Linked DNA regions of Homo sapiens: region 2 is linked to region 1. Evidence: promoter capture Hi-C in 16 types of primary human blood cells and fetal thymus (Javierre and others, 2016). All regions are on one chromosome and are shown on one strand. Each heading gives the region's core, a stretch centred on a gene start or on the middle of the fragment in contact. The rest is flanking DNA. Distances are from core to core; before and after follow the strand shown. Region 1 holds the start of KIAA2013. Region 2 has its middle 12 kb from the start of RNU1-2.

Region 1 (3,166 bases), core at 567-3,066:
ATTGGAACCCTGGAAACCAAAACCCCTCTCTCATCCAGAACAGGATTTTCTTTTCTTTAACAGTCAACGAGAGGAGAGTTTTCATCGGGCGGGAGCATCTCAACCTGCTAAAAGGGATTCTCCAACCTCCCTGTGAACCAGTTGCAGCCACAACTGCCAGGACGCACCTCAGCCTAGCAGGGGTTATGTCAAGAAGCCCACGTCTGTCACCAGGCCGACTGCGGTGCTGAGCAAAGAATCAGGGGATCCACCTGCTGGTTTCACCTCTGCAAACTGACTCTAAAACACTTCACTCTGCTCACATCAGGCCCCATCTACCAAAACAAGTAACAGAAAGAATTGACCTTTACACTCAATTGTCCACTACAGTCTCATAAAAACCTTCTGAGGTAGGCGTTATTGTTATTAAATACAGGCCCAGAGAGATTAGGCGACGAATCCAAAGGTCGCACAGACACTAAGCAGTTGAGCAGATTCAACCACTGGTGAAACGCCAAGCCCAAGTTTCAACCACCCCACCATCACCTTCAGTGTCACCTCTGCAGACTTGGGAGGGACATATCTAGGGTGGACCAAGCGCTGGCCAGGACTCACCTGGGCTGAAGAGCTGAGCCCAGAGGAGCTGGTGGTCTTGAAGCAGCTCCGCCGCTGGCATGTCCAAGAGCTCCAGCATTTCCTTCCGTGCCAAGTCCTGCAGCGCCTTGAGCTCCTTGGCTGCTTTGCTTTTGAGCACCTGGGGGTTAATGGGGCCAGAGACGTGCACCACCCACAGCACCGTCTCATCCAGCTGCGTCTTGGGAGCCACTTGGAGGCGGTTCACCAGCTTCTTGGCGGCCACCACCACCAGGTGCACCAACCCAGTGGGCGTAGGCGGGGACCGGCCTGAGTAGAGGAGGAACTGATGGTCTCCGACCTTCTCCAGGGTACTGGTGAAGGCCTTGGGGGCTGGGCCGGCAGTGGGCCCCACAGTCTGCAGCGCGGCCACGCGCTCCGTGGGGTTGTTGAGCTGGATGCGCTGCAGGTAGACGTGGGGTCGGCCCCTGTGCGCCAGAAAGTCCTCTTGCAGCAGCACGCAGTCGCGGCCGGACCCCGCGGCAAGGCCAGAGACGGAGGCGGGCCCGGGGCCGGCGGCCACGGGGCCAGGACCTGGGGACCCCAGCTGCAGGCAACGCACGCGGCGCAGAAGCCCCTCCCGCAGCAGCAGCACCGCCTCTCCAGCTTCAGCCAGCGCGCTCAGCGGGCGCAGCTGCACGAAGGGCACAAAGTCCGGCGCCACGGCGGGCTCCCGCTCCCCGGGAGTCACCCACAGCCGATTGGCAGCCACGTCCAGGGCCAGGAAGCCGTTGGCCACCAGGGCCGGCACTCCAGGACCCAGCGGTACCACCTCACCGCGCTCCCGCAGGCCGCGCCAGGCGCGGGTGGCCGCCTCCAGGCAGGCAGACGGCTCGGCGGCGCCCGGCTCACCGCGGGACCAGGGCAGCAGGTGCAGGCCGCCCGCCGCCCGCCGCGCGCCGGACCCCCCAAACCACAGAAGCAGCAGCAGGAGGCCAAGCAGGCAGAGGAGGCGGCGGGCCCAGCTGCTCGACAGCAGTCCCGGCAGCCCCTTGAGCCGCTGCTGCAGCCACATCGGGCCGCCAGGCGCGGGCAAGGGTGCGAGGGCGGCCGCCGGGCCCGCCGCCCAGCCCACCGGCCCGGCCGCCCGCGCCTCACTGCCCGGCCCGGACCGCGGCGCCCACCCCGGCCCCCGCCGCAACCGCCGCAGCAGCCGCCACCCCTGCTTCCTCCTTCTTCTCGGTGGCCTCCAGCCGTCAAACGACGCCGGCGGTCAAGCGTCGCCGTGTCTTTTACGACAGATGGAAAACGGGAGGGCGGAGGGAGGAGAGAGAGCAGGCCGGAGAGAAGGGGGCGGAGCCACGGCGAGGGCGGGACAAAAGCTGCCGGGGGCGGGACCACTCGTTCCCAGGCCGGAAGAGTGAAGTCCAGTGGAGTTAAGTGCAGGGGTCTGGGGAGGACTGGAAGCATCCAATTCACTCGTGAAAAAAACATCGAGCCAGCCAAACCGAACACGTGTTGGGCCCCTTTGCTACTGATGGATTCAACAGCCCCAAAATTTAAAAACATACACACACACACACACAACAACTTTGTTTCTGTAAAAATGACCATCCTCTCGCCGCGCGCGGTGGCTCACGCCTGTAATCCCAGCACTTTGGGAGGCCAAGGCGGGCGGATCACGAGGTCAGCAGTTTGAGACCAGCCTGACCAACATGGTGAAACCCCATCTCTACTAAAAATACAAAAACTAGCCGGGCGTGGTGGCGCATGCCTGTAATCCCTGCTCCTCAGGAGGCTGAGGTAGGAGAACTGCTTGAACCCGTGAGGCGGAGGTTGCAGGCTTGCAGTGAGCCGAGATCACGCCACTGCACTCCAGCCTGGGCGACAGAGTGAGACTCTGTCTCAAAAAAAAAAAAAAAAAAAAAGACTATCCTCACTGCAAAAAAACACTTGGAACAATACGAAAAAGTGGAGGAAAAAAAAAGGAGAGAGAAGAAGAGGAAGAAAGAAGAAGAAAGGAAAAGGGAGGAGGAGGGGAAGGGGAACCACCAGAGGCCAGGAGTGGTGGCTCACGTCTGTAATTCCAGCACTTTAGGAGGCTGAGATGGGCAAATCACTTGAGGTCAGGAGTTCGAAACCAGCCTGACCAACATGGTGAAAACCTGTCTCTACTAAAAATACAAAAATTAGGCTGGGCACGGTGGCTCACGCCTGTAATCCCAGCATTTTGGGAGGCCGAGGCCGCCAGATCACGAGATCAGGAGATCGAGACCATCCTGGCTAACACGGTGAAACCCTGTCTCTACTAAAAATATAAAAAATTAGCCAGGCGTGGTGGCAGGCGCCTGTAGTCCCAGCTACTCGGGAGGCTGAGGCAGGAGAATGGCGTGAACCCGGGAGGCGGTGCTTGCAGTGAGCCAAGATCGCGCCACTGCACTCCAGCCTGGGTGACAGAGGGAGACTCTGTCTCAAAAAAAAAAAAATAAATAAATAAAAATAAAAAAATAAAAATGCAAAAATTAGCTGGGCGTGGTGGTGGGCGCCTGTAATCCCAGCTACTTGAGAGACTGAGGCACGAGAATCGCTTGAACCAGGGAGGCAGAGGTTGCAG
Region 2 (3,016 bases), core at 43-2,542, 5.0 Mb after region 1:
ACTTGGAACTGGTGCCGTTGGGTTGTAGACATAACATGCTTGCTGTTTGTATGGGAAGGGCTTTGCCAGTGCTCTGTGCCCCTGTGCAGGGCATCCAGGCCTGCAGGTCAGAACGGCAGTCTCACCTATGAGTTTGTGTAATACGCAGCAATTCTCCCTGGAATATAAGATGGGTGGTCTTGTGAGGTTCCTACAAGTAAGAAGACAAATTTCCCTTCAGTTTGTATTGACAAAATTCAAAATTAATAATAACAGCCCAACCTCTTGAATGATAAATGTCCTTTACATTGACAGACCAGAACTGCCCTGCTTGCCTCAGCTCCTCTGTGCAGGTGCAGCTCACAATTCCCCCCACACAGGTCATTTCCTCCCTGCTTTCTCCAAAAGAGGGAGACAGCAGTTCTGCAGGACCACAGGGCTCAAGGCCTTCCAGGGCCAAAAATCTCAGAAGAAGTTGCCCGTTCTGCCTGTACCTCACGACTGACCTAGAAATGGCCTTTGCTAGGAGCAAAGTAGGGGGAAATGGTCGCCAGAGCTGGGGCCTGGGTACTGGGCCAGGTTACCCCACAGGAGGGGAAGTACTCAGGGTTAGAGGGGGCCAAGCACCAAGACCTCAGCATCCTCAACCTCCAAAAGGACTCAGAGAGATGCAGAAACCGAGACAGGGTTCCTCTTTCAAGGAAAGAGACTTTTGAGGAAGACCCCAGGGCTCTGAACCAAAATCCAGATTTTTCCCCATCTGCAGCTTAATTCCACCTTAGTTGGTGCAACTTCATCCTTCCCCTATGCTCAGGACAAAAAACAGTTCTTCTATAGGCTGGTCATTCTCTGGCCCCATACATCCTATTGGTCAGAAAATTATGTTTTTTCTTTGGTTAACTGCAGACTTTGGTCTGCACAGTCTTTTTCTTTCTTGGTCTGAAAACCACCCAGTAGTCCCATATGTAGCTTTTTTGGATAAACCTAGAAATTGACCCTGCTGGTCTTAAAGCTTGAAACTTAATATTTGTTTCGTCTGAGTTCCTTCCTCAGGAAACAACCTTCAGGCCTCTCAAAAAAGCCATCAAAGAACTGAAATTCATCCAGACAATGAGATGCTGGGACCCCTCATTCATCATGATTGCTTCCTTGCTCCTCCCTAGTTCCTGTTTTCTTACACATTGTTACATTTCTTCCCTGCCATATAAACCTCTGGTTTTGTTGGTCAGGGAGATGGATTTGAGACTGAGTTCTCATCTCCCCCACTGCAGCACCCTATTAAAGCGCCTTCCTTGGCAATAATCATCTCGGTGATTGGCTTTCTCTGTGGCAACCAGCAGGAATCCCAGATCTCTGAATTTTGGCAAAGGAGTCTCCTGATAAAGGTGGGATGGATTCTACTGACCAACATCAAAACGATCAGACATTTGAAAGCCTTAATCTCAGGGTCGGGGTTTGGGCCGCCCTTGGGCCTTTTCCTTGGGCCTAACCATTAAAATCAGCCTAGCCAGGTCTGTCTTCCAGGCACAGGGGTAGGGCCAGATACTCCTGATGCTTTTTGACGCTTCTCCCACTGGGTGGGCAACAACCCTCCCCTTCCCTGTGACCTGCAGAGAAGCTTCAGGGGGCGTTTATTCAATTTGCTAGGAGCCTACAAAGCACAGGTACACGGTGACTCTGTGGTTCCCACTGCACCTGCCACTCTCCTTGGTCCCCTCACTGTCTCTGGCAGGCAGTAATGTTCTGGGTGAGCTTGGGTGCTGAAGACACCCAGGCAGGGAGGGTAGGGAAAGGCACCAGCCCCTTAGGTCCTGCGCATTAGGGATCCAAAAAACATCTGAAGAAACAGAAAGGGAGCGTTGGAAGTAGATCAAAGGGAAAGAAAGAAATCCTAGGAGATTTCCTATCTGAAGGCACCATGAAGAGAAAGTCCGCCTCCTCTGGGCCGCGTCCTCCTGTTGCAGGTGAACCGAGTTCCGGTCTCCATTGGAAACCAAAGCAGGTAACTTTGCCCTGACTCCTAGTTAGGAAGCCATGCTTTGTCCTCCCCTGTTTAGCACTTGATCCTGTAGCACTTGATTGTCTCTCCCTGGCTTTCTATGGATTCCAGAGATGCAACTGAGAAGTTTGTTTTTAATGCACTTTTCCTTAAAGTAAGAGTATTTCAGGCCGGGCACGGTGGCTTACACCTGTAATCCCAACACTTTGGGAGGCAGAGGTGGGCATTTTACTTGAGGTCAGGAGTTCGAGACCAGCCTGGCCAACATGGCGAAACTCTGTCTCTACGAAAAATACAAAAATTAGCCAGGTATGTTGGCACCGGCCTGTAGTCCCAGCTACTCGAGAGGCTGAGGCAAGAGAAACCTGTGAACATGGGAAGGGGAAGTTGCAGTGAACTGATATCAAAAAAAAAAAAAGTATCTTTTGGCAAAGGAAATGATTTCTGACAGGTTTTGCACTTAAGACACTCAGGTGTGAGGAAAACATGAAAACCACTATGCTAGGGAAAGCAAATGCTGTTGAGAATGTCTCATAAACACAAATTACATGTCAGCAGGTAGGTTTGACCCTCAGGTTGGGCACATTTTACTTTAAGTTCACTGTCGGTGGAACTTAAGATGAATCTAAGACATTCACGATGTATGTATGTATGTGTGTGGGTGTGTATACATATACATATATGTATACATATATATACACACACACATATATATATATACACACATATATATATGTCTCTCATATATATATGAGAGACAGAGTCTTGCAATCTTGCCCATATTGGTCTCCAACTCTGGGCCTCAAGCGATCCTCCTATCTCCCCATCCCAAAGTGCTGGGACTATAGGCATGCACCACCTCGTCCAGCCCATTTTAATGTTTTTAATTTAAATACACATTCCCAAAATTATATAACAAGTACAGGAAGCCCACTTTCAGCCAGTTTTACAAAAACAAAGTGGCAACATCCTAAAGTACTGAAAGAAATAAAGTTTTCCTAGAATTCTATGTCAAAGTGAAAAATCTTTCAAGAATAT

The links. The method cuts DNA at HindIII sites, captures the fragments that hold promoters and counts their contacts. A CHiCAGO score of 5 or more calls a contact.
Region 2: a contact is called between a fragment that was not itself captured here and the fragment with the promoter of KIAA2013 in region 1, in 1 of 17 cell types (monocytes). The highest score is 6.4, in monocytes.

Annotation. Positions count from the first base shown.
Region 1 is chr1:11,924,611-11,927,776 of GRCh38, forward strand. It overlaps KIAA2013, which reads right to left and starts at 1,817. Exons shown (of 3, transcript NM_138346.3): 1 at 595-1,817. The coding sequence starts at 1,627. RefSeq lists enhancers at 761-1,423, 1,424-2,087, 1,742-2,036 and a silencer at 1,672-1,741. The HindIII fragment of the contact is 9,969 bases long and covers 1-3,166 here.
Region 2 is chr1:16,906,612-16,909,627 of GRCh38, forward strand. No RefSeq gene overlaps it. Among named protein-coding and RNA genes, the nearest start is that of RNU1-2, 12 kb to the left of the region's middle. The HindIII fragment of the contact is 606 bases long and covers 990-1,595 here.